Regions from separate parts of the Homo sapiens genome. Here regions 2, 3, 4, 5, 6 and 7 are each linked to region 1. Evidence: promoter capture Hi-C in 16 types of primary human blood cells and fetal thymus (Javierre and others, 2016). All regions are on one chromosome and are shown on one strand. Each heading gives the region's core, a stretch centred on a gene start or on the middle of the fragment in contact. The rest is flanking DNA. Distances are from core to core; before and after follow the strand shown. Region 1 holds the start of HNRNPA0 (heterogeneous nuclear ribonucleoprotein A0). Region 2 holds the start of DIAPH1 (diaphanous related formin 1). Region 3 holds the start of DIAPH1-AS1 (DIAPH1 antisense RNA 1). Region 4 holds the start of GNPDA1 (glucosamine-6-phosphate deaminase 1). Region 5 holds the start of HDAC3 (histone deacetylase 3). Region 6 holds the start of VDAC1 (voltage dependent anion channel 1). Region 7 holds the start of TAF7 (TATA-box binding protein associated factor 7).

The links. Contacts are between HindIII fragments. The CHiCAGO score rates a contact against its expected background, and 5 or more counts as called.
Region 2: the fragment with the promoter of DIAPH1 here is called in contact with the fragment with the promoter of HNRNPA0 in region 1 in 6 of 17 cell types (fetal thymus, total B cells, naive B cells and 3 more); the score reaches 10.1 in fetal thymus.
Region 3: a contact is called between the fragment with the promoter of DIAPH1-AS1 here and the fragment with the promoter of HNRNPA0 in region 1, in 4 of 17 cell types (activated CD4 T cells, neutrophils, naive CD8 T cells and 1 more). The highest score is 11.1, in activated CD4 T cells.
Region 4: a contact is called between the fragment with the promoter of GNPDA1 here and the fragment with the promoter of HNRNPA0 in region 1, in 2 of 17 cell types (neutrophils and activated CD4 T cells). The highest score is 6.6, in neutrophils.
Region 5: the fragment with the promoter of HDAC3 here is called in contact with the fragment with the promoter of HNRNPA0 in region 1 in 2 of 17 cell types (non-activated CD4 T cells and fetal thymus); the score reaches 7.8 in non-activated CD4 T cells.
Region 6: the fragment with the promoter of VDAC1 here is called in contact with the fragment with the promoter of HNRNPA0 in region 1 in 1 of 17 cell types (total B cells); the score reaches 7.5 in total B cells.
Region 7: the fragment with the promoter of TAF7 here is called in contact with the fragment with the promoter of HNRNPA0 in region 1 in 2 of 17 cell types (naive CD8 T cells and naive CD4 T cells); the score reaches 7.1 in naive CD8 T cells.

What each region holds. Positions count from the first base shown.
Region 1 is chr5:137,751,941-137,755,711 of GRCh38, forward strand. It overlaps HNRNPA0 (heterogeneous nuclear ribonucleoprotein A0), which reads right to left and starts at 2,423. Exons shown (of 1, transcript NM_006805.4): 1 at 1-2,423. The coding sequence starts at 2,126. The coding sequence ends at 1,209. RefSeq lists enhancers at 1,082-1,773, 1,183-1,342, 1,853-2,202, 2,464-3,155 and a silencer at 2,783-3,142. The HindIII fragment of the contact is 5,253 bases long and covers 1-3,771 here.
Region 2 is chr5:141,617,300-141,620,789 of GRCh38, forward strand. It overlaps DIAPH1 (diaphanous related formin 1), which reads right to left and starts at 1,701. Exons shown (of 28, transcript NM_005219.5): 1 at 1,499-1,701. The coding sequence starts at 1,615. RefSeq lists silencers at 1,279-1,475, 1,286-1,335, 1,396-2,055. The HindIII fragment of the contact is 3,913 bases long and covers 570-3,490 here.
Region 3 is chr5:141,556,206-141,559,720 of GRCh38, forward strand. DIAPH1-AS1 (DIAPH1 antisense RNA 1) reads left to right here and starts at 2,106. Exons shown (of 3, transcript NR_038333.1): 1 at 2,106-2,282. All of the region lies in intron 18 of DIAPH1 (diaphanous related formin 1), which reads right to left. RefSeq lists enhancers at 1,084-1,936, 1,697-1,991. The HindIII fragment of the contact is 6,603 bases long and covers 192-3,515 here.
Region 4 is chr5:142,011,575-142,015,265 of GRCh38, forward strand. GNPDA1 (glucosamine-6-phosphate deaminase 1) reads right to left here and starts at 1,453. Exons shown (of 7, transcript NM_005471.5): 1 at 1,421-1,453; 2 at 338-467. The coding sequence starts at 461. RefSeq lists silencers at 578-637, 1,309-1,578 and a cis regulatory region at 2,720-2,992. The HindIII fragment of the contact is 4,254 bases long and covers 543-3,691 here.
Region 5 is chr5:141,634,480-141,638,194 of GRCh38, forward strand. It overlaps HDAC3 (histone deacetylase 3), which reads right to left and starts at 2,370. Exons shown (of 15, transcript NM_003883.4): 1 at 2,257-2,370; 2 at 2,069-2,151; 3 at 332-474. The coding sequence starts at 2,311. RELL2 (RELT like 2) reads left to right here and starts at 2,518. Exons shown (of 7, transcript NM_173828.5): 1 at 2,518-3,715. RefSeq lists silencers at 1,843-2,137, 2,147-2,196, 2,257-2,546 and an enhancer at 3,057-3,106. The HindIII fragment of the contact is 11,354 bases long and covers 1-3,715 here.
Region 6 is chr5:134,003,119-134,007,090 of GRCh38, forward strand. It overlaps VDAC1 (voltage dependent anion channel 1), which reads right to left and starts at 1,857. Exons shown (of 9, transcript NM_003374.3): 1 at 1,777-1,857. RefSeq lists enhancers at 581-630, 641-690, 2,341-2,460, 2,531-2,590, 2,631-2,700 and silencers at 921-1,960, 2,021-2,080, 2,121-2,170. The HindIII fragment of the contact is 5,979 bases long and covers 1-3,972 here.
Region 7 is chr5:141,318,474-141,322,405 of GRCh38, forward strand. TAF7 (TATA-box binding protein associated factor 7) reads right to left here and starts at 2,311. Exons shown (of 1, transcript NM_005642.3): 1 at 17-2,311. The coding sequence starts at 1,571. The coding sequence ends at 522. RefSeq lists enhancers at 1,840-2,039, 2,620-2,679, 2,690-2,839. The HindIII fragment of the contact is 5,333 bases long and covers 1,343-3,932 here.

The sequences.
Region 1 (3,771 bases), core at 1,173-3,672:
TTAACTTCCAATTCTGCAAAGAATTTTGATGGCAAAACTTCCAAATCTGATGCAATTGTCTTAAGCAAGTTTTTAAACAAATTGTTTCGCAGCTACTCTGCCATTCTGCCAGTAGATGGTGCTACAAAGATCGGGAAAGGGATTTCCATGAGGCCAACAGTTCGGATATAGGAAAAAAAAAAAAAAAACGTTTAAACCTGCTCTGAAAGTACAAAAACGCATTTGAGGGTAAAATATAACCCTTATTTTTAACCATTCATTACAGACAAACCAGTAAGAGGGATGAAACTAGGCCATCTGAAAAATTTTAAACAGTTTATATGAATGACATGCTTAACACAAACTATATAGAACTACACAGTACACAGTTTGAAGTAAATTGTCATAGAAATGACCAACCATGTCAAGATGATAAACAATTCGCTTAGTACAAGAGATGGATGCACAGAAACTTAAGAGTTTAAAAAGCCACATCCACCACTTCAAAAGTTTTGCCTGTAAGGGATATAATTCAACACGCAACTAGCAGGGCAACAGGAGAGGGGAAAAAAACCACAGGACCTCTTAAGTTTCTCTAAGTACACATCAAGAATAAAGAATTAACACGTAAAGTCTTAAACAAATATCCCTTAAAAAACGGTACGGAATGGATCCTAGAAAAAAAATGTTAGACATGTACGGTCAAACACAATGATTTATTAAAAATAAAACGTAAAAATGATTTTTGTACATATGCTTCCAAATTTCAGGCATGGGATCCAAGTAGATTTCATAGAAAACGCTGTAGCCAGGTTATCAAGTCCTTACAACAAAGTAAACTACCCCCCACCCCAACCCCCACCCAGGTTTTGCTACAGAATCAGCAAGTTCACTCCCTCCCTCCCCCCAAAAAACACAAATTAAAACAAGACATTTTGCTAGTATAAAAACGACCAAGGTCCAAGTAATAATAAAAAAATAGAGTCCATCAATGACTGTAACACAAAAATGTGTATGTGGGGCCGAGTCCATCTTCAGAGGGAGAGACAAGAGAGGTGGCAGGCAAATAGAGGAACACCCCCAAGGGTAAGCAGCCTTAGAAGTGGCTCCCCCAAGGGCAAAACAGGGAAGGCGGTGTGTGTGAGGGGGTGGGGCTTAGGAGTTGACCCCACTTGGGCTGTTGGAAAGAGCTACCCCTATAGCCACTCCCAGGCATTTTAAATTTTCTTTTAGAAGGAGCTGCCTCCATAGCCACCCCCACCGCCATAGCCGCCTCTGTAAGGTCCACTATTACTGCGACCGCCCCAGCTACTGCCTCCACCGCCGCCGCCGCCGCCGCTCTTCATGGGCCCATAGGAGGACTGATGCTGGCTGTAGCTGCCGAAGCCGCCGAAGCCGTTACCGTAGTCGCTCCCACCGTAGGACGAACCGCCGCCGCCGCCTCCGTAGGCATTGTAGCCGCCGCCTCCGCCGCCGCCGTAACCACCGTAGCTGTTGTAACCGCCGCCGCCGCCCTTGGAAAGGCCGTTCTGGTCTCGACCACCGCCGCGCCCCCGGCCGCCTCGGCCGCCCCGGGAGGATCGGGAGCCGCCTCCACCCCCACCGGAGTAGATATCCTCCTTGGGGACTGCTTTCTTCACCTCCACGCGATGGCCCTGAATCGGATGGAACTTGACCACCGCGGCCTTGTCTGCCGCGTCGTGATTCTGGAAATACACGAAGCCGAATCCACGCTTCTTGCCGGACTGCTTGTCGGCAATAATCTCGGCCTTTTCCACGGTGCCAAACTGCGAGAAGTGCTCGATCAGGTCGCCCTCAGCCACGTCTCCTTTAAGGCCTCCGACAAAGAGCTTCTTAACCTTGGCGTGGGCACCGGGCCGCGCCGAATCCTCCCGGGACACCGCCCGCTTCAGCTCCACAGTGTTGCCGTCCACGGCATGGGGCGAGGCGGCCATGGCGGCGTCCGCCTCCTCCACATTGGAGTAGGTCACGAAGCCAAAGCAACGGGAGCGCTTGGTCTGGGGATTCACCACCACCACGCAGTCCGTCAGAGTCCCAAAGGCCTCAAAGTGGCCGCGCAGGCCCGACTCACTCGTCTGCACATTGAGGCCGCCGATGAACAGCTTACACAACTGAGAATTCTCCATCTCCAAGGCCCGGGCCTTGCCCCCGCCCTGCGAGCTCCGAGGTTTCGCCGTCGCCGCCGTTATCGTTGGTTAAGGCCTCTACACAGCTTGGGCCCAGCCGTTGCTGGAGCCACCCCCGCCGCTCACCGACGGGGAAGGGAAAAAGGGAAGGGGAGGGAAGGAAGGAAGAGAGGAAGGGGGAGGGAAGGGGAGCGGTGCCGGCTAAAGGGCGAGCCGAGGAGACTGGAAGACAACCAAGGCCACCGCTACCGCCGCCGCCGCCACCTCCGCTCCCCTATCTGGGCACCACACAAAGAGGCCGCTGAACGCGCGCGCACCCTCCCCGAGGCGTGCGTCACCGCCGACGTACGGCAGCCTAGGGCTACCAGCCAATCCCCGCCTCGCTCCCCTTAATCCCGCCTACCGCGCCGCAGCGCCGCTCTAGATCACGGACTCCCCGCCCTCCGCGGTCTATTCAAGCCCGCGGCCTGTGCCGCTCCCGCTTCCGCTTCTGCCAGCCCACTTTCATTCCCGAGCGCCCCACTGTCCCTTGACATGGGTCCCTCCCTGCCCTCCGCGCACCACCGCGATTCATTTCCTCCTAGCACCGCGGCTGTTCCCAGTGTTTCTCCCCCTCCCCTTTACTCATCCCCTCGCCCAACTCCGCAGTGGCGTTCGCGCCAGCCCCTTGAGAGACATCTGAGTTCAGCCAATCACCGTGATCCCCTCGCACCCACTTCCGTTTTCGGCAGCTGTTGGACGGGCGCGCTCCCCGGTGCGCGCTTGCCCCGGCGCCCCCGGCGTGCAGAGCCGGCCTACCACCCCCGCGCCTTCTCCCGCCCAGGGCTTTGCCGGGGAGAGAGCAGGGGGCGCGCTGGGGGCCATTCCCAACGGATGCGGTCTGGGGCGCCACGCGCGGGCTTTTTGAAAACTTGACTGTTGGGGTTGGGGGCCCGGATCTACCCGCCGCCTCTCCGCTTGTCCGCTACACCTGGCGTCCCCGCCCCACCTCCCGCCCGCACAAAGATGGAGGGCAGAGGCCTGGTCCACGAAGGCGGTTATTAACCGTTTACAGTGGGCCCGACGTGCGGTTAAACTAAAACTTTGCCACGTGGCCCTGCGCAAAAGCGAGCCCGAGGCGGCGGTGTGAAAGACAACAGGGAACCAAAAGAACTTCAGACATTAGGAACCAGACGAGGCGCGACATCCCTGCCTCCCTGCCACCCTCCCGCCCTCCTTGAAGCCCTCCCACGATGCCCTCTCAGAGGAGGCCCTTTCAGGTCCCCTTGGCACACTCCAGCAGACATTTTCATTTAACCTCAGTGAATGGTTTTTTATGTGTAATTTACATCATCTATGTGTTGCTTTCTTTGAACTAGAATGTTAGCTTTTTTGTTGTTGTTGAGATGGAGTTTCACTCTTGTTGCCCAGGCTGTAGTGCACTGGCGCAATCTCGGCTCAGCAACCTCCGCCTCCTGGGTTCAAGCTGTTCTCCTGCCTCAGCCTCCTGAGTAGCTGAGATTACAGGCGCCCACCACCACACCCGGCTAATTTTTGTATTTTAGCAGAGATGGGGTTTCACCATGTTGGTCAGACTGGTCTCAAACTCCTGACCTTAGGTGATCCATCTGCCTCGGCCTCCCAAAGTGCTGGGTTACAGGCGTGA
Region 2 (3,490 bases), core at 451-2,950, 3.9 Mb after region 1:
GGGGGGAAAAAAAGATGTTCACCAGATAAAAACAGATGGTTACTGACATCTCAGATATCACTGGAAAGGGCAGTCCAGGAGCACTTGGTCTTGCTAGAAATAGGAAGAGATGAGTCACTATTTTAATTCTATTTAGAATTAAACATCTAACCCTCCAGGGTTAACATCTCAACCCTCTAGGTCATAAAACAACATTTTCTTCCTGTTTCCATCGCTTTATCAGTTTTCTTCCCAAATTTGTGGAGCTGGGTCAAAATGTTGGGAGGTGGGACTAAGAGTTACAAGCCATTTGTTTAGTAGAAAGATACACTAGTGTAAGGGCATAAATACCTGGAAGAGAAGACAAAAGAGCTACAGTTATAACTAGCTATTATAATGATCATCAATATCCAAGACTTTTCCTCTCCTGGACAGTGCCCCGTATCTTACAAAGCTTTTATAGCAAAAAAGCAACCAAACGGCTCCCTGGAGAGAGGCGTTGGTGTGGGCAAAAGGTAATGAAATATGATAGGGTTACATGTATATCACTATTCCTTCACTCGGATTGAAAGTAACTGGCACTTGAGGAAAGCTTACTCTTCTACAGGCACGCAAAGGGAAGCCGATAGTCGCCTTGGGGCACAAGAGGCAGTAGAAAAGGAGTAGAGGAGACGGTTATCATGGGAAATGTATAAAAAACAATTCAATTACAAACTTCTTGAACTCGCAGTCCAACTTTCTTCCCACAGGAGAGGTTTATCACCATCCTAGGTCAAGAAGGGCACAATCATGAGAGTTCTAATCCTCTGAAAAGTGATAAGCAACAGGGCAAAGAGAGAGGTTCTCTGGAGAGAGGAATACTGGTAAACAAATAAACGTCATGCCCCAGTGACCATAGGACCTGGGCAGGAGCCCATTCCTGTAATCGCAAGGACAAACGTCCAAAGAAGGAGTTGGGGGTAGGGCTCAAGTCAGGTAACATTCCTCAGGGGAAGGATTATCAAGTGACACCGGGCGGAGGGCCCACGGGGGACTGGGCGGGAGGAAAGTTAGCAGGTAAAAAGGATGAATCATGGAGAAGGAAGTGACCTTTAGGAGAAGGAAATACGAGAATACCAAAAAAGGTGTAAGGTTAAGAAGAGAAAATGGACCCAGAAGAGGGGACCAAAAAAGAGGAGGCGTGTTCGGGTACTGGAGGAAGAAGAAAGGAAGTGAGGCTGAGAGGGGAGAGACGGGGCTGAGAGCCGGCCGGGGATATGCGGGCGGGAGGGCAGAATGTAAGGGCTGGGGAACGAGGGAAGCCCCGAGGTGGCCGGGGCAAGAGCCGGGTGGGATTCCGGGGCTTCCCGAGGTCCCGAAGGGAGAGGATGTCGGGCTGCAGAGCTGCGGACCGAGCGAAACGAGGAAGGAAGGCGCGGGGGCGGCTCCCCAAAGCCGGGCAGGCGCCCCAGGGGCCGGCTGCAGGGGTCCAGAGGGCGGTTACGGGGCCAGGCAGGAGCGGGATGGGAGGGACACTCACAAATTTCTTAGATTTGCCGCCGTCGCCGCCCGCCGAGGGCAGCTCATCTGGGCTCCGGCCCTTCTTCTTGTCCCGGGTCCCGCGGCCGGGCCCCAGGCTCCCGCCGGGCGGCTCCATGTCCCGGTTCACGCTGGCCGGCGACCCCGCGCCTACGCCGCTCCCGCCTGGCAGCTCCGCGCCCGCCGCCGCCCAGTCGCTCTTTAGCCAGCCGCCGCGCCCCGCCTCATTAGCATGCCGGGCTGCGCGCGCCTCATGAATATACAACGACGACGCCTCGCTCCCGCCCGCCTGCCCCACTTCCGCCCGGACCCGCAGCCCCTACCAATGGGGGAAGGGAGAGGGGCGGAGGGAAGCCGCGGAAGCGCGCTACCTGCCCAGCGGACCTAACCATTCGGACCCACGTGGGGGGGGGTGGTGAGTGGGCGGTGCAGCTCTCCGCGGCCGCGGCGGAGAGCACCGCCCCCTGGCGGTTGGAGCAGCGCAGGCCTCTGGCTCCCACGCAGCGCCCACGTGGCTGTACAGCCTGACAGCCTGGACCCTCTCACATCCCAGACCAAAAATCGCGTGAGACCATTATCCTGGCAGAAAATTAGTGACAGGTTTTCCAAGAGAATGCAGTTTTCAATGTGTGCAATACCCATGGAACACATGAAAAAAATTATAGTGATAGCCACCATGTTTTGAAAGCAAGGTAGCAAGAACAGAGCTCGGTCCAGGGCAAGCACTAGACTAAACCAGACTCGCTCTGGAGTTTAATTTCCTAGTTCGAATTCCAGGTTAGGTACCATCTAATTGTTTCTAATCAGGACAAACTAATTATTGCCAACATGTGCCTAAACAGCAATAACAGTTACCACTTAACCATGCCCTTTGCTCTCTGCTAGGCACTAGGCAAACACTCTACATGTATTTTTCTAAGTCCCCACAGTCCCATGTGATAGATTCTGCTAGCCTCACCATTTTATAAATAGTAAATTTGGACTTTTGAGAGTTGAAGTGACTTGCCCAAGAACGCATAATTGATATAAAATTTAAACCCAGCTTAGTCTGATTTGCTGCCAAACCCTATGTTTAACCAGGATTCCCCACTGACATAAACCAAACATGAGTGAAAAGAATGAGTATTCTCCAAGAGTATATTCTTTGCTCTTCTAGCATGACTTTCTCCCTAAGCAATTTCATCCATTCTCCCAGCTACATCTGTCCCTTGTGTGACAGTTACGTGGCTACCAGTCGGCCTTCACAATATGGACTGAATATTCTTGACCACAGCTAGCAAGATTTCAAGCATAAGTTCCTGAAGGGCAGAGTCAGTGACTTACTTACTCTAGAGCCCCAGTACCTAGTCAAGGGCCTGAGATATACCAGGGACTCTGCCAAGCTGGCTGGCTCCTAAATTTGGCATTCATCTCTCTTGTGGTCCAGACCTTCTGATGGTGATCGGATAGAATGTTACATAGAGCTGTCCATCCCATACTTCAAACTTGACTTAGTGCTGAGCTTTCCAGACATTTTGTCTAAAAAGTCCAAAAGCTACTTTCTAAGCTAGTGTTGAGAACAGACAGAATCAGAGAATGGAGGGGAGGAAGTGACCCATCTATCAGTCCTCTTTCTTGTATCAGTCTGTATCTGCTACAATATTTATCATACTACTGACTGGAATGTAAACTCTTCTAGAGAAAGGTTCATGTTTGTGGCTACTACAGTATTTAGCATTGTTCTTCACATAGACAGATAATGGGCAACTTCTTCTGTCAGGCACTGTGCTAAGCACTTAACATGTTTTATCTCAGTGTATCTTCACCAACTAGCATCACTACTCTAAACACCCAGATTCAAAAACCTGAAGTCATCTTCTACTCCTCTCAAATCTGCCCAGGTTTGTCTAACTCTTAACCAAAATCCTCTATTAACTTCTTATATTTACAATAATAAATGTAGAATACATACACAGGGCCTAACGTAGGATAAGTGCTGAATGAATGTTAACTA
Region 3 (3,515 bases), core at 856-3,355, 3.8 Mb after region 1:
CCCCCGGCCCCAACACAGTATTATATTTTTTCTTTCTGTAAAAGTCCATGAAGTGCTGTTAATTCATTGAGTCTTACCAGGGAGAAAGCTGCTACTTAAGTAAAAAAAGTATTCGGGAAAAAAAAAGCTGATACTCTAGAATCACCATAGGGATGCAGCTATTACACAGTGGCCAAACACAGTTGTCCCAAAGCTTAAAAGCTCTCCTTTAATTCTTAGAACGGGTGAGGCCCACTTCTATGACCATGTTCTCCGTTGACGGCAGTGTGCAAACTTTTCTCAAGACTTTGGGTAACAGATTATCACGTCAGGAGAAAAGTAAGAGTCCAGCCCTTTCTCCCTCTGAAGGTGGCAGGGCATTGCTCCTTCACTTGGTCACCAATAGCCTCTGTGGGAAATCCTAAAGAAGAGGCTCTGCTCTGGCAAGAAGGGAAGTCTGGCTTTGTATCTTCTCAGTCCCAACCTGAGAGATCTTCTTTTTATTTATTTATTTATTTATTTTTTGAAATGGAGTCTCACTCTGTCACCCAGGCTTGAGTGCAGTGGTGCAATCTTGGCTCACCACAACCTCCGCCTCCCGGGTTCAAGCAATTCTCCTGCCTCAGCCTCCCGAGTAGCTGGAATTACAGGCATGCGCCACCAGGCGGCCCGGCTAATTTTTGTATTTTTAGTAGAGACGAGGTTTCGCCATATTGGCCAGGCTGGTCTCAAACTCCCAACCTCACGTGATCCGCCCGCCTCGGCCTCCCAAAGTGCTGGGATTACAGGCGTGAGTCACCGCGCCTGGCAGAGATCTTTTTAAAAGAAATTAAGTCTATAAATAAATTGCAAAATAAAAAATAAAAAAGAGCATAAGAGAGAACCTATAGAGACATCAACCAACTGCAATGTGTAGACTTTATTTGGCTCTGATTCAAATGAACTATTAAAAAAAACAACTATCATAAGATAATTTGGGAAATTTAATACTAACTGGCTATCTGATGATAAAGAATTTTTTAAATGTGATAATGGTAGTAATTATCTTCTTTTAAAAGTCCTAATTTTTTTGACACACATTCTGAACTGCTTAAGGATTAAATAATATGAACAAGGATACATGTAAAAATAATGGGTGGCAAAGACAAAGTTGATACAGGTATATGAAACAAGACTAGCTGTTGATTAAGTTTTTTAAATGGGTGATGGACATAGGGGTGTTCATACTAGTCTCTTTACATATATGTGTGTATGTGTGCGTGCATTTTTTTCACGGTTTCAAAAATAACATTTTTTAAAAAAATTCAGGACCATTTCCCTAGAGTCCTTGGGGCATTTGATTCTTCCCAGACAGCTAAGTGAAAGGGGTTCCTTTTTTTCTTCTTTTTTTGGGGGTATCTTTTCTTATCTGATCCTATAATTAAGAAAACTGCCCTAAACATCTCTGTAGCAAAAACACCTAAACCCAGGATTAGAGTCTAGATGAGGCAGAGGGGATGCCCTGGCCTGCTGCCTCAAAAGCTAGCACTCTGTCACTGTTAGTAGGTGTCCGGCAGCCAAACCATTTTGCTCTGTGCTCCGCTGGCAAGGACTTGCGGCATCGATTGCTCAGGATGCAGGCAGCCTGCAGCAAGGTGTGTCCCTGATGAGCAACTGCTGAGTAAAAGAGTACGTAGCTGCGCCTCAGCCAGTCTCCCTCCCTCTGCAAACCAGACTCCTCCTTTGCCTAACTCCTTTTTTTATTCCTGCGTCACAAATACAAAATGGAGTTAGCTGGGAGCAAAAACAATCTGTCTAAAATGGCTGAATGCGGTGGGGAGTGCCAGACAGTAAAGCGAAGGGAAAGGGCACCCCCTGGCGGCCAAGATAGGGAGTCTGTTTTATGTTCTTCACTACTTTTGCATTTCAAACGAATCAGTCCTACAGAGTCCAAGTTAATTTTGTCACAAATCTTGATGTTGAGCTCTAAAATTCAACTAATAGAAACTGAGGCACAAGAAGGGAAAATAATTTTCAGTCTCTAAAGACAAAGGGCACAAGTCAACAGCCCTGAGTTGCAGTTACTGCTTGGTTATGATCAGTAATAGTTTCTAGGAGACAACAGAACGGAAGGGAGGTCCTTTTATAGTACATGATTCCCCAGCTTCAATAATGGACTAATGACCCCCGGAATCCCACCGCTATAGCCTGCACTTCCCCAGGAATTCCTGTTTAAGGCGTCTCTCAATGAAGACCACAAACAGGAAATGGAGGAGTGGGGAGTTGCCTGACATCCTGGAAACTACGTTCTTAAAGAACTGCAGGTGGGAGTAAGTGGGATAGAAAAATGGGCTTTTCAAAAACTGTTGAGAACACGGACTGAGTCAGTTGTATCCGCACGGCTGGAAGACAGGCAGCTCCACCTAACCTCACTCACTTACTCAGGACCAAAACCCTACTTGCTCTGCCCAAGATAAAGCCTGCAGCATTTGTACCTATTCTACAGGGAACACCCTCCATTATCTTTATCTTACGCTACACCTCCCTTGAGTAAGCCAAGTACCTATGACTAAAAAAGAACATGTAAGAAAGGTGGAAAAAACAGAAATTATCTGGAAAAACTTGTGGGTACAAGTCATTAATGGTTGCCACTACTTAAATGAGGCTGCACAAATACGCCAGTTTATCCAACGTCCCTAAAGTGAGATAATGGCAACACATACAACACAGGTGCACAAAAATCACAAGTTGTTAAAAAAAAAAAAAAAAAGACTCTGGCATCACTATAGTTTTCTCTGAAGAAATAGGGTCTTTGTGGAAGAATCTTAGATCTCTCAGGCATATATGAAAGATCAGAACACTTAATAATCTCTCCAGGAAATAACTTTCTGTGAGGGTAACATAGCTATGGAATTGCCAAGTTCACCTAGCATACAATAAGCCATGTCTATTAAGCACTACATCAACTCTCTAATTCTGGGAAGAGGAGACAGTAAGAGGGTCTTAATGTTAATATAAGTGTTAATATAAGAAGCTGCCCAAATGGAGGACTTCTGATTTATATTCTTCATGGTTGTAATATACATAAGGGATAAATTCAGCACTTTAAAACAATCACTAAGGTATACATTATAGAAGGAAAAAATATCATGCCAACCGAATAGCAGTTATCCCTGCCCAAAGGTAACCGTATCACTGATACCTTGGCCAAAATATACAACTATCTGCAAAATCCCACAGAACTAGACCATTACAGATGTGCAAGCTGTAAGGAGGGACAGGGCAAACTGGCATTAATGAACAAACCTAAAGGACAAGAACAAAGCCACACAGAATCCCAAAGGAAGAACCAGATGCTGAGAGTTATAAAGAAGGGGACAGATATAAGTCTGGAAGGGTAGCAGAAAAGCAGTATTAAAAATCTGGGCACTTCACCAAGCATTTGGTCTTTCAGATAATATAGTCATTGAGTTTCCCACAGATACTTTCCCAGCACACCCAGGATGGTGACTCAATTAGGGAGTGCTAAAAAGAGGTCTGCTTCTAGGATGTGGGTG
Region 4 (3,691 bases), core at 203-2,702, 4.3 Mb after region 1:
TTCATTACATAAAATGAATGCCTTAGGGTATCAGGACTTAATTCTGTTAAGAAACCCTGGTGGACAGGGCTGACTTAGGATGTAGCCTAAAAATCAAATTCTTCCTGCCAACCAAGATCCCTTCTGCTCCAGGATTCTGCAGGGACAGGCAGCGACTAAACCAACCCATAAGGGAAGCTGGGTCCTTTGTATGTGGAAGGGGCAGGAAGGTGCTCTCTCAGCACCAGTACCCCAGAGCCCCCGTGAAGTCCCTTGGCTGAGTGAGCCGGTGTACCTGGCCCCTGTTGCCTACTCTCTCCACCCTTATCCACGGCACCCTCTCCATCCAAGAACGCACCAGTGGGGAGCCCCAGGGTGAAGTACTTCTCTGGCCCTGGGTTAAACTGGATGATGCGGTTCCTGATGTATTTAGCCGCCCACTCGCTCGCCTGAGAATAGTGCTCCAGGATGATGAGCTTCATCTTGTCCTGCAGTGGGGGAGAGGGGATGACAGAAAGGAATCAATGGTAAGGGGCAGAGAAAGAGATGGAGGTGGTGGGAGAAGCTTCTCTTACCCAGCAACAATCCCCTTCCCAAGCTGTCTGAGCCAGGAAAAAGGCCTTTCTATTCACAGAGGAGCTAAGAGGCTAGGCCAGTCGTCTCCACCACCCACAGACCACGAGGAGGCGCCACTGGGGGCAGATCTGGGTTCTAATCTCAGCTCCTTCACTTACCACCTGCAGGACCTCGGTCAAAGGACCTAAGTTCTCTCTGAGCCGTTTCCTCCTATGTAAAAATTGGGACAATAGTACCTACTTCACAGACTTCACGACGGGTAATATGAAATGAGAGAATGCATGTAAACAACTTAGTATTTTCTACGTTGGCTGTTACCATCCAGATAGATGCTCGGCTCAGCCCCGCCTCCCTCATCCCTGCCCCTACCGGAACGGGATACCCTACCCCCTCCCCGCCGTCTACCCCAAGACTCTTCCTCCAGAAGTAGAGAGGTCATGGGATCATGCTGGGCCACTAGAGCAGGTGGGGCAATGAGCTCTGCCTGGGGAGCTGTGTGCTCTCTCTGGACTAGCGGAGGGGTCTTCCTACTGGCCCACCTTGCTTTGCGAACCCCTCTGGGTCTTCAGTTTCCCCCAAAGCACAAAAGGGAAAAGGTAATCGCTCCAGAAGGAGGACATTTTGTTCCCCCAGCACTGCGGTTAGTGGGAGTGTGAAGGAAAGAGGCGAAGGTGGCCCGCGCGGTCGTCGGTGGGGTACAGCGTGTCCCCCACCCCCATTACCACCCCATCGCCCCTCCGATCCCTCCTGGAAAATGTGTGAGGGCGGCTCCCCGGGGTCCCGACCCCGAGTGCCGTAGGGCTGGGGCAGCGCTCCGCGCTCCGGCCCGCGAGGAAGGTCCCCGCCAGCCCTGCTACCCACTTACACGGACGCCTCCCGCGGCGGCTGCAGCGACTGCGCCGGCGGCCCGGCCCCGCGCGGGTCACGTGGCTGCGGGTCACGCGGCGCCGCGTGCGCCGCCCGCCGGGCTGACTCAGCTTGGCCGCAGCTACCCGGACCGACTCTCCCAGGTGGAGGAGTTCCGGCCACTCAGTCCCACCTCGGTCCCTGGCCCCGGCAGGCCCTGGAACAGACCTTAAAAAACACTTTCCCTTGGGAGGCGGGGATTCGAGTCTGGTTTGTGTGTGTGTGTGTGCAAGAGGAGGGAGACTTGAGGGGCGCCGGGTCGCCCCCAGGAATACAACCCCCTGGACCTTGGGGCTGGGGCCGGGGGGTTTTAGTGCAGGGGTTGAGCTGGGGGCAGGCAAAGCAGAATCGCTTCCTCAGTCTCCTAGGGTTGGGCCTGGCTCTGCCTTCAGTTTCTTTCTTTGTTTAGATGCCATTTATTTACCCAAGTATTAAAACTTGTGTTGTTTAAAGTACAATTGGGCTTTTTAATGTCCTTTTTTAAAGATCAAACTTTGCAGCATTATATAATAGAGAAAAAGGCAGGCCCCTGGTTTCCCCAACTCCCCACACCAAGATAACCATTGCTTAGTTTAAGAGTACATTCTGAATTGCTTTCTTTGAATATGCTTACACTGTTATTTTACATAAATGGGAACACATACACATGAGGCTTATATATATCAAGGCTCGGATATTTGACCTGCATTATTTCACTTAATCCTTATTAAGCTCCAGTGAGGTAGGTTTGCCGTTACTTTTTAACAGGTGGAGAAACTGACGCTTGGAGAGAAAAATTAACTTGGCCAGAGGCACAAGTGGTTTCCCTTGTGCCTTCAATTCAGGGGGATCTGTCCAAATCCAAAATCCATGCTTTTTACCGCTAGCGGGCACTGCCTCCCAGCTGGTATGACTGGATTTGGGACGCTTCCATATCAGAAAAAGAGATCCATCTTATTCTTTCCAGTCAACATTAGAGTGTTCCAGACTTCTAGGGACACTTGGGAACTTTCCATGCGGAGGCTGGAGGAAGGACTTGAGTGCTGGTCATCAGTAACATCTTCCATTACATAGGGTTTTGCCAGAGCTTTGTGCGCATTATTTCATAGAATCCCGCCCAATCGTCAGATATGATTACCGCCATTTTATTGATGTGGAAACTGGGGATCAAAGGCGTACAGAGACTTGTGATATATGACCTCATAGTCTGACATCCCGGACTTTAGTCAGTGCTAGGGAGCAGTGGTGAGACCTTCTGAATCAGCCTAGTTTTCCTCCAGCAGCAAAAGGCCAAAGGAATCCTGGCTTTATGCCCACGGGACAGGGCCTTCCTCAGTCAGCCGGGTGGCCACGTTCTGCAATTCTGCTGAATCTGCTCACTGTGGACAGCCCCAGGCGCTCACCCAGCCCTTGGGCCCAACTGCAGCTCCAGACCAGCTTGCTAGGGGTAGGCTTCATCTGGTGAGGCCCTGATGAGACCAGATGGTGGAGCTGATACCTTTACAGTGTGGGGGACTTGCTCTTTGCCTCAGTGTTATTTTGTTTTGTTTTGTTTTGTTTTCCAAATCCTGAGAGGCTGTGAATGGCTCGGTGTTGGTGTAGTTTTTGTTTATTTTTAAATTCAGTCAGAAATCTTTTTTTTTTTTTTTTTGAGATGGAGTCTCGCTCTGTTGCCCAGGCTGGAGTACAGTGGTGTGATCTCTGCTCACTGCAACCTCCGCCTCCCGGGTTCAAGCAGTTCTCCTGCCTCAGCCTCCCGGGTAGCTGGGATTACAGATGCCCACCACCATGCCCAGCTAATTTTTGTACTTTTAATAGAGATGGGGTTTCACCATGCTGGCCAGGCTAGTCGTGAACTCCTGACCTCAGGTGATCTGCCCGCCTTGGCCTCCTAAAGTGCTGGGATTACAGGCATGAGCCACCGCCCCCAGCCAGAAATGTTGTCTCAGCTTGAGGACTGCAGATGTTTCACAATGAAGCTCCAACTCCAATCTCCGATCACGTCTGATAACATGGGCCAGGTCTGCAGCATCTGCATCCAGACCTTTCCAGGAGGAGAGTGACTGACTTCTGGTGACTAAGCCCATTTCCCCTGAGTTACCCCTTCTGCAGGGAACCAGTGCAGGGTCTCTGCGAAGCCTGGAGGCTCTTGGATCAGCGTGGGGACTAATCGGAAAGACCTGCATTTCAATTCTGGTCTGGCTAATTTCTGGTTATTTAGTGAGTAATTCAAGCAAATGACTCAACTTCT
Region 5 (3,715 bases), core at 1,120-3,619, 3.9 Mb after region 1:
CTAGGAAGGCCCCACCGACCAGCCACTCCACCAAGCTAAACAATCCTCCACGTATACACTCTCATAATCTGTCATACACCTCCTCTTTATAAGACTTAGCAAAAATACGATATTAAAATTTTGTTTTTGTTCATCACTGCATTCCCAGCACTTAGCACAGGGCCTGCCTAGAACAAGTGACCAATAAATATTTATTGAATAAACAAATAAAATGAATTATGATGCATTGACAAGTAGGCCCCCCTTGAGATCTTCCCACTGCTGCCAAAAGACCTCACTGAAGGGCTTGGCATTAAACTGTTAGACATCAAAACTCCCAGTCCTCCCTCACCAGTCATCGCCTACGTTGAAGGCATTAAGACTCTTGGTGAAGCCTTGCATATTGGTGGGGCTGACTCTCTGCAGGAAGTCAATGTAGTCCTCGGAGTGGAAGCGGCACATGTCATGTTGGGAGGCCTGGTATGGCTTGAAGACCTCGGGATGGAGACACAAGATGAACCCAGGCAGGGTCAGCCCCACTCCACAGGCTCAGACCACCCATACTGAACCCAGTCCTGGAGACTATATGAAGCCAAACATAGCATTCCCCTCATCCCACAATCCTTAAGTCAGTAGAGAGACTCCGATTAACCAGGTAAGTTATTACAAATGAGCCCCCTGAAGACCACTTCTTTTCCTTTCCACCTCCAGCTCAGCCTATCGTACCTTCTCAACTTTGAGCCCTGATCCACCTGCCCTGTTCCTTGGAATCTCCTATTCCCAGTTCTCTCCATGCTCATCTCCTCCCCCAAGCTCTGATTCTGTCCTCTTTCCTCTGGATTCTTCTTTCTGGAGTCAAATATATGGGATATATGTCAACTTTCTAATTAAAATCAAAGATTTATTATCTTTGGAAGGTCAGGGGGATGTGTCACACCTCTTTGAAAACTGCACAAGAAAGAGCTTTTCTTCTCCCAGAAAATGCACACAGGTACATACAGGCAAACAATCTCAAGGGATATAGATTCCTGCACTAACATCACCTCAGTCTTTTCTATGACCAGTCCATTTGTCTGTGCCTTGGCACAAGCAATGAACATTCATTCATATTGTTCACTAGTTTCCCTAGCAACACATAAAGCCTGGGTTTAGCTGTTTTGTCTTATTTTTTCTTTTGAGACAAGGTCCTCCCTGTCAACTCAGGCTGCTGATCATAGATCACTGTAACTTTAAACTCCTGGGCCCAAGCCATCCTCTCGCCTCGGCCTCCCAAGTAGTTGGGACTACAGGCACACCCACCGCACATGGCTACTTTTTTTATTTTTATTTTTTGTAGATGTGGGTCCCACTGTGGCCCAAGCTGGTCTCCAACTCCTGGCCTCAAGCGATCCCCCCCATTTCAACCTCCCAAAGTGCTGGGATTACAGGCATGGGCCACCACGCCTGGCGTGGCTTAACTGTTACTATCCCATATCACAGCCATAAATTCCAAGCTGGGAAGACAGCATGTGTATGTCTGGTAGATGAAAAACTGGATAGCGATTAAGCAGAACCATGTAGAGGTATTCCAGGCTGAAAAAGGAATATCTAAAATATCGCCTCTGTTCCACACGCACATACACATTTACAAAGACGGCAGCATCGTTCCACCCTGGAGCCCTAGCTCCTTGGAGGTAAAGAAAGGTGGTAAAAGAGGAGTGGGAACTGAGGGTAAACCTCACACCCTGATACAGTGATATCCGCTCCCCTAACCCTAATTCCTGAGGCCAAGGCCCTATCCACACTCTAAAATGCAGAGGAGGAACACACCTTCTGTCTTCAAACCAGCCCCACATCACGCTAACCCTAGGCCAAGGGCTAGTGTGCCTACAGTCAGAGGGTGGCCGACCTGAGGTGAGAAAGTACTTTCCATTAAGCAGAGGACGCCACCCCCAACACCCTGCACTTTCAAGGTACTCCTGGTGACTTCTATCCAGCTCCCCGATACTCTAGGGGCGGGTCGCACTTCATGCACTCAGTCCAGCCCACCTATCCCTACGGCCACAGCTCGCCCCACCCCCCAACCCCCGGCCGAGGCGGCGGAACTCACGATCATCTTCTTATAGAGACCGTAATGCAGGACCAGGCTATGGGTCAATGCCAGGCGATGGGGCTTCATAGGGTGTCCAGCTCCTGGGGGTGGGGAGAAGAGAGTTCGTCAGCTCTCACCCCTGGAGTTGCAACCCCGCCTCAAAACCTCCGTGTCCCAACCCCTCATGCATATCCCTGTTTCCTCACCGTAGTGGAAGTTGCCCACGTCGGGGTCGTAGAAATAGGCCACGGTCTTGGCCATGGTGCCGGCGGGAGCAGGCCCCGCACCTCCGCCGCCCGCCGCCCGCGGCCGCCGCCAGCCCCTCCCCGGCCGTGCGTGCTGCGCAAGCACGTAGCCGGCCTCTGCGGAACTGGGCGTTGCGGCCCCGCCTCCATCCACACCCAGGCCACGCCCCCAGGGGAGCTCCGCCCCTCGCCCGGCTCAGCTCTCCCGGTATCTGGGGCTTTGAGCGTCCCGGGTTGGGCAGGGAACTGGCAGCATAGCTCCTAGGATGCGAGGGCCATTTGTCTCCGGCCGGGGGTCAGATCCTCGGGAAGCCGAGCCATCCCATCCAGCCGCTTGCCCCAAACCGGGCGCAGGCCGTGGTCACTTCTCTAGGAAGCTCCGAAGATCCCGCCACTCCGTCCCTCAAAGGTGCGGAAAGCCGGCTTCCCCCAGCCCTCGGAGAAGATTCCTGACTCTCCGCTCGGTCGGGGCATCTGAGGGCAGGAGCTGCGCCAGGCGTACCGGATAGACCAGTGGACAACACCCACGCCGGACCGCCTGTCCCCTACCCGGACCCAGACTCGGCGCCGCACATTGCCCCGGGGGGGCCCGGCGCAGTCACGCGCGCGCAGAGCTCACGCTCTCCGCCCCGCACACCTGCGCTCCGCCCCCTGGTCCTGGGCCCGCGACGGGTGAAGGCATTTGGGAAGCCAGGGCGGCTGCGGAGGCGATCTCCCTGACCCAGGGCCGGAGTTGCCCGGAGCCTGCCACCGCTCTCAGCCAGCCCGCATCCTTCTCTGTTCTTCCCTCCCCCCGCCTGCCACGGCGCGGGTATCCGCAGCCACAGCCCGGGGCCGGTGAGGCGGCGAAGGGGGAGGGGAGGAATCAAGGGATGAGCGCCGGAAGGGCGTCGGGGGCCCTGAGCCGCACTAGGACGCCCCTGGAGCCGGAACCCCAGCAGAAGCCGGAACCAGAACCAAATCACCGGTACCGGGTCGGCCAGGTGGTCAGGGTGGGAGAAACCAAAAAGGGAGAGGGGTGCGGGAGTACTGAGAGGAAGGGGCTGCAGAGGCCTGGCTCAGGCCGGCGTGGAGGAGGTGCGGGCGCTGACTCAGGCAGGATTTCTGCTCCCGCCGCCTAAGAATGCCGTCCCATCTCGTGCTGCAGTGTCCTTGGGAGGGACAGAAGCGCGAACAAGCTGGAAAGGGGAACGCTCGGGGCGTCGGGGAAGCGGGACCAGGGTCGTGGTAGAGAGCTTGCGTTGCCGCTGACCTCTTGCCGAAAGGCGAAACAGCACTCCTGGCCCGGACAGCTCCCTGGTTGGGTAGGGGGTGGGGCCGGACCTCAGCCGGACGTCTTAGACGTGCTTGTTTCAGATCCTGAGGACGGCATTCCTACCCCTCCCCCATTCCCAGCTGCAGCCCCCTAAACCCAGGAGGC
Region 6 (3,972 bases), core at 607-3,106, 3.7 Mb before region 1:
ACACAAGAGTGCATTTACCCCCACAGACCCTTCTCAAGCACCTACTGTGTGCCAGGCAGCACCACCCCAGGCACTGAAGACAAAGTAGCACAGGGCCTCAGTGCCTCAGTCTGACCCTTAGGAGCTGAGTTGGTCCAGAGCTGGGGTGGGCAGAATGAAGGCTGGCCCTCGGTAGTCTGCTCTGGCCTTCTCCTGCCTCAGTGGAGAAGTTTAGGCAACAGAGGAGCCCTTTCCCCTATCTCCCCAGGAGAGGGGAGGCTAGTCAAGGGGACAGGGACCCCGGGCGGAACGGGCTCTAAACCAGGGTCTGCTCCTGCATTCAAGATCTCCACATGCAAACTTACTGCTCCAGCTTGACAATGTCCATTTGTAAACTTACAAGATTTTTCATAAATTAAGCTGAAAGTTACTCAATACCTGGTATACAAATGCTTGTCAATAATAGTGAAAGAATGTTTAAAAACAGGAGCTACATTTATTGAACCCCTTCCACAACGCCACGTGTAGCAAAATGGTCTGCGGGGGATGGGCTGGATTCACCCAAAAAGCCCCAAGGGTGTCAGGGTTTCTACTTAGCCCTTCTCCACACCGGCACTGTTCTAAAGGTTTCATGCTAATTAATTCATTTTATTATTCCCCAAAACTCATCGAAGGAGAGGTACAATTGCTCCCGTCCTATAGATGAGAAAACGAAGGTATGGGGACTTCCCAGCTGTGTGACCTTGTACAAACCACTAAGACTGCGGGCCTCTAATCCAAAGTCAGGCTCCGAAACAGTTTCCAGAATGCACCGCCGCATTTGGCGAATGAATGAACGACCGAACCAGTAATCACTCCTAAGACCAAGAAGGCCACATCCTTCCCCGTGGGGCCTCCTTTTCCGAGGCCAAACCTTCAGCCCAGGCCCGAGCTCCGGCCTCTACCGCCTAAGTCGACTCTCGGCCGGCGCGTTCCGCTCTAGAAGGCTCTGGCACAGGCGGGCGGTGCCGGGCGCCAGCTTCTGCGGGCGTGGGCCGGCCAGGGCGCGTGGGCCTGGGGACTCGGGGCCACGGTCGTCACGTGAGCTCATCCCCGAGGCGGCAGCGTGGCCGGCACCCGCCCGCTGGCCTGGTCCGGCGAGCGTGGGCGGCGAACGGGTCCCCGCCGGATGCACGCTGGTGGGATCCAGGGCCAGAGGGCGCCGCCGGGGAAGGTCACCTAGACGCGCGGCCCGCCGGGCCTCCACGCGGCCGCCCTTGCACTTCCGCCCGCAAGCCCGGGCCGCCTCTCGCCGCCAGCCGCAGGCGTCTCTGGACCCTCGGCCTCGCGCTCCCCAGCCCAGACCTGTTCGGCACCCGCCTGTGCGGCCTTCTCTGCCCGCCCGCTCACCAGCCAGGCCCGCGCCGGCCGCTCGCGATCCCTCCCCGCGGCCGGGCTGCCGGGGCCCCTCGCCCGCTCCTCCCTCAGCGCCTCCCTCTCAGCTCCCCAGGGGCCTGGCCCCCGCCGTCCAGGGCGCAAGGAAGCCGGGGTCCTTTTCCGCTGCGCCTACCTCAGAGGATGTGGCGGCGGGCTCGGAGGCGGCTACGGCGGGGGCTGCGACGCGGAGGCAGGGAGCCGAGCCAGGGAGCGGAGCCGAGCGAGCGGCTGGGCCAAGGGCGGGGCGGCGCGGACGGCGGCGGCGCGGACCCGCCTCCCCTCCTGCGCGCCCGGCCCGGCGCGCTCCGCCCCCAGGCCCCGCCCGGGACAGCGTCCAGGCCGGGCCAGGGTCCCCATCCCGCTAGCGAGCCGCGTTCTTACCCTTCCGGGCCCCGCTGCCCCGGCAGCAGACACAGGAGCCTGCGGGCGTGTTGCGGGCGCGCGGGAGGACCTGCGTGAGTCGGGGCACGGGGAGGCGCCGGACTGACGTGTGCACCGTGTGTGCGTGCGCAGGGACACGCGGGTTCTTGCTGGAAACCTCGGCCCCAGTGGCAGCGCTCGGGAAGGGGGAGGAGGCCTTCCGATTCTCTGAGCTGTGGCCCGGAGGTCCCTGCGCTAATGGAAGACGCGCGGGGCTCCTGGGCCTCCTGCTTGGCCTCCGCGCTGCTAGATCCCCCGGGAGTTGATGTGGCCGGCGCTGGACCCAAGCCTCGCCTGGGTGGACAAAGTGGCCCCCGGCCCCCCATCAAAGCCCGCGTGGGCCCCATCCCCCGAGGGCAGTCCCAGGCCCAGCGCGGACACTGGGCGCCTGGGGCGGCGCAGATACAGAGTAGAGGCGGCGACTGTTGCTCCCGAGCTCCGCGCTCCGGATACAATGTGTCTGGCGCCTCCGACCCGCCCGCGCGGCGTCTAGACAATCTCAGAGAAAACCCCTGTGCGCCGATTTTGCACTACAGATTAGCGATTTTCTCCTGTAGCAAAGCTACTAGCAGCCAATTTCCATGCATTTGAGAGGCAAAAAGACAAAATAAAACAAAACGTGGATTGGGTTTTGCGAGGTCCCTGCTGGGTCTCTCGGCGCGAGGAGATCACGCCGGTTATGGCCGGCCGGCCGACTGAGGGCACCCCGGGTAACCCCCGCGACCAGCCGGGGCGTGTCCTGCGGGACCCAGTTAGTGTGTGTTGAGTGAACGGTCACCTCGCTGCTAGGCCTAAGCGAGTGGTCTCGTTCACCACTGAGTGTCCCCTGTGTTACGCGCGAGGCCCACTCGAAGCAGGTTTCGAGAATTAATTCGTAGATGGACGAAGATTCTACACATCCTTCGCCTTTGATCAACAAACGTCCTGGAAGGCTTGAGGCGTCTAGGGCCCTGTGGAGGAGGTGCCGGGTTACAGAATCAGGACACTCCTCACAGCCAGCTGCGACACTATCTAAAGCAGTGGGCAACTGGGGCTACGGAGGAGGCAATCAGGACTGGCTGCTGGGAAAAGGCGGCAGATTAAAAGTGGCGACTGGAGTTGGAAAAGGTGCTCCAGTGGGATAGGGTGCTGAGGAAGAGGGCAGCTGATACAGAGTGGGAGTGGGGTGCAGACAGGTTACCTAGGCCCTGTGTAGGGGCTGGGGGAGGGGTGACTGGGAATGTAAGGAAGAGCCCCCTTCAAGATCCTGAGGAGTGTAGGACGGATTCTATGACCCTCCCAGGCGCACGAGTTGCCTGGGAACTCTGGGCTTCCCAGCCTGGTGGTCCCCACCCCGCACACTGAGACTGGTGGGCAGGGGGAGGACAAGAACTCAGGGAGGCCGGGCGGGACAAGGCGGGGCTCCAGGAACCCCACAGGGCTAGGAACAGATGCCGGTGCAACCCAGTTTTGAGGCTGGGAGCAAATGTCGAAGGGCTTCCTCCCCTCCAGCGCCACCTCTCAACTCCGCTTTAAAGAACCAATCTGGGCCGGGTGCAGTGGCTCAAGCCTGTAATCCTAGTACTTTGGGAGGCCGAGACAGGCAGATCACTTGAGGCCAGGACTTCGAGACCAGCCTGGGCAACATGGCAAAACCCTGTCTCTACTAAAAATACAAAAACTAGACGGGCGTGGTGGCGCGCGCCTGTAGTCCCAGCTACTCAGGAGGCTGAGGCACGAGAATCGCTTGAACTTGGAAGGAGGAGGCTGGAGTCAGCTGAGATTGAGCCGCTGTACTCCAGCCTGACTGACAGAGTGACATTGTCCCCCCCCCCCAAAAAAAAAAAACAAAAAAAAACAACAACTTGGAAAGAGTTCTTCATGGCCTCTGCTACCCTGGGCCCCTTCGCCAGCTCCCCTAGGTGCTAGTTTCAGATTAACCACTCACTTAGTGGCTGCGTGACCCAGGCAAGAAGGCTGGCCTCTAAGAGCCTCAGCTTCAGAGTGTTGGTGTAAGTTTAAAATGGGACACATAAAGAGTAGGCACTCGGCCCCGTGCAGTGGCTCACTCCTGTAATCCCAGCACTTTGGGAGGCTGAGGCGGCTGGATCACCTGAGGTCGGGAGTTCGAGACCAGCCTTACCAACATGGAGAAACCCCGTCTCTACTAAAAATACA
Region 7 (3,932 bases), core at 1,061-3,560, 3.6 Mb after region 1:
AGAACAAGATACACTATAAAGTGAAAAACAGATGCTTTTATTTATTGTATTGGAAACAACTTAATAATTTGCATCTCTACATATAGAAAGCTGCTTTGAATAACTGGGAAAACAATTATTGCATAGGAAAACATATGCAAACTAGCATCATTGTCTCTAGACTAGGTTCTTCTTATTGATCTCACGTCATCACAAAGCAGCAACAGCAGCTTCTAGAAAATGGAGAAACAGTAAAGTCCTGCAATGAAGCTATAATTAAGGTTGAACCATACATTCCGCTAATCCTGCAACTTTCCTACAATCATTTTTCTGCCTATACAATCCTGCTTCTTATAGGATGAACACCTAGCAAAACAATATAAATTTGCTGAAAAACAAAATTACAAACAAATGAAAGAACTTAACAGAACACACAGCATTAAAAGGACTAGGAAGAGCAAGGTCTTAATACCCAGTACAATAAAGCCAAGAATTTTCTAATGCTGACCAGTCTGAAGACTGAAATTAAATATCAGTTCTTTTTACTTCTCTAGGAGTGATTCTAGCTCCTCTTGCAAAGAGCTGAGTTGCTCCTTTTCTCGGTCTTCCTTTTGTTTGAGCTCATCCAGTACAGCCTGAAATCTGTTCTTGAGAGCCAGATTTTCCACTTTCATGATGAGATCCTCTTGTCGTTTTGCCCTGTCCTGGGTCTCTTGGAGCTTGCCTTTCATGTTGTCAATCTGCTTCTGAATTCCCATAACCAGCTGATTGGTTCCTTCATTTTCCTGGTGCTGTTCATCTGATTCATTTAGCTTGTCCTGTAGCTGTCTCTCCAGATCTTCCTCCGTGTCAATGATGTTTATATCTTCTTCATCTTGATGCTGGGTCTCATCTTCATCCTCACTGCTGCTGCTGAGGTCATTGAATATCTCCCGAAGCTCATCATGTTCTAATGAGTCATGGCCCTGCCTGTGACCAGACATTCCTGGAGAAGAGATATCCAGGCCTTGATTTTCTGCCTCCTTTGTTTCATCTTCGGCAATTATTTCCCACCGAGTACTAACAGCTTCAGCATCTGTACTCAGCAATCGTTTCACTTCTTTTTCAACATCTGGAGATTCAATATATTTCTTCTTTGCTGTCTTCCGGAACCTTCTCTTCCTGACATTCTTTAGAGGCAGAGTAATTCCGTGGTTCCAGATAAACTTTTTCTCTTTGTCCTTATCCTTTTTCTTGCTTGCTTTAGGATCAGTGCTAGCAACTGGCTCCTCCACAGGAGGATAGAGATCACCATCAACTGTGGATACAAGCATCTGACAGATATCAGCTGTCTTGTAAAAAGTTTTTTTATCAATGGTTTTCAAGCTTTCCATAACACAGGGCAGGTCTACTAATTTTGAGGCCAATGGAACACGGTCCACTCTGACGATTCCATGACGCCCATCAGGATGTAACTCAATTGTCAGTCTGTCCTTGAGGTTGACATGACCAGACTGTACTGCCCTTCTCACAGTAGAGGCATATTCTGGAGGCAGACGTAAGATAAACTGGCTCTCCAGTTCGTGAGGAGCATCATCTTTGCTTTTACTCATCTTTATTTCCTTGTGATTCACTTCTCCAATAAATGCTGGTTACACTAAAAAGTTCCAGCTACTGCAATAGTTTAAAACACCAGTTTGCTATGAATTGAAATCTTTTAATTACAAGAAGTTCTCTGTAGATCAGCAGCTAAGCGTCTATTTTGCCTTAGTTTTTATTTAAGCTCCAAGTCTTTTCTCTAAATATGCTGTGACCGAATACCAGTCGTTAACACAAAGGCTTATTCACAGACTTAAGTTCATTAAATCAGATGCAATGCCAAGTCCCAACCTCTAGGTGCCGCTGCCGGACAACGCGGAGAGAGCTAGCTAGCTAGCTAGGGAACAGGAAAGCAAATGGCGGCTCCCCCGGAACGGTTTTCGGCCCAGAAAGCCCAGCAGAGATACTTTCAACTCACAAACTCTCCCGGAACAAAGACACTCAAAAAATCAGGGCTCAGCGAGCTCTCTTCGCCTCGGGTACTTACAATCCAGTGACGATTATAAGTTCAGTTTCACCGGGCCGGAGCGAAGGGAAGAGGAGGCCGCAAGGAGCCAAGCGGGAGAGAGCCGAGCGTCTCCTTGTCGTTTCCTTAATTCTTCCTGCCGCTTGGCAGAGTGATCCACTACCGATTACTGATGAAAGGGCCCGGGATGGGCAGCGCGAAATCTTGCCGAGAGGCGCAGCTCGCATCACCAGACCCCGCACCTCGCCGGCCCTCCGTCCGGGTCGCCTACCCAGCAAAAACGGAAGTGCTACGTCGCGACGCGGGGCGGGAGGCGGCTGTGAGTGACAGCCCCTCCGGGCGGAAGGGCGGAGCCCCAGCTAGCGCAGGCGCAATAGCGCAATTACGCTGCCCAGCGTGAAACTCATCTTTTCGCGAGAACTTGTTTTTCCGGGATGGAAATGACAGTGTTTCGGAAGAGCTGTTGGTTTCAAACTATTTAGAGCTTGGAAGTTCCAAGAAAGACACAGATTCGTCCCCCGCTAAGCCAGCACTTTTACGGGATCGCTGTGGGGCCGGATGGCTTCTAGACTTCCGGGTGATTCCGGGAGATGGGGGACGCCTTGCAGTAAGCGTCTTTGCTTCTGGAAACATCTCGGATGTTCCCTAGAGTCTAGCCTATCTGGTGCCAATACAAGAATGTGTAGCTACTATACAATGGATTTCAAAGTACCCAAATCAATGGAGTGAGGAGGACATGCAGCTTACTATATAAGTCTCTCTCTATATATATGTTTGTTTGTTTGTTTTGGAGATGGAGTCTCAGGCTGTCACCCAGGCTAGAGTGCAGTGGCACAATATTGGCTGACTGCAACCTCCACCTCTGGGGTTCAAGCGATTCTCCTGCTTCAGCCTCTTAAGTAGTTGGGATTACAGGCACGTTCCACTACCCCACCTAAGTTTTGTATTTTTAGTAGAGAAGGGGTTTCACCATGTTGGCCAGGCTGGTCTCGAACTCCTGACCTGAGGTGATCTGCCTGTCTTGGCCTCCCAAAGTACTAGGATTATAGGTGTGAGCCAGCGCGCATGGCCCAAAGTCTGTATTTTTAAATATAATTCCCTGTAGGGGAATTGTGCCTCTGGTTTTACTTGTGTTCTATAATACTTCTGGGGAAACAAGGGTGATTCCTTTTTATGTGCTTGATTTAGATGTAAATGTAAACAGAGAAGGAAGTGTTCTTTTGGACAGAATTGTCTGATAGACTGAGCATCTGGTTAAAGTAGATATAATTGAAGTATTGTTTCCTGTCTCTCATGTACAAGTAATTTTAAATTACTTTGACATTTTTTTTAACTCCACCTCTACTATTTTGCTGTTTTCTGCTTGTCTTTTCTATCAATAGTCAGGTATTCATCAACACATATTTTTAGTATTTTAACATAACTGGGTAACAGTTGGTACTTATTTCTATTTATTTCCATTTATTTTTAAAATATCTGGGAGAGCATCAAGGCCATTAATATTTCATTTCTATCCTCTAAAATATTAACAATTGCCCCTAAATTTAAGAGAATTCTCTTAAGATGTAATTAACATTTCCAAAATTCACTTTATTCTTGTATGATTGAAAGCTCCATGATAGTGATCTTCTTCTATCCTGGTCATTGTGTCCCAGTGCCTAGTACCAGAATGTGGGAGATACACAAAAAATATTTGCTAATTGAATGAAAAAACTTATCTGTCTAGAAAGATCATAGTCTCAAATCCTGTAGTGATTTCTGAGAGAAAATACATTCTTTGTCATTTTAAAATGAGATAGAGCCACTTTACATACATTTCCTTTCTAGTCAAGGACAATTCTAATTGTTATGAGGTGGGGAGGTTTACTAATAGTGTGTGTGAATGTGGTTTAGCTAGAATGAGATACTG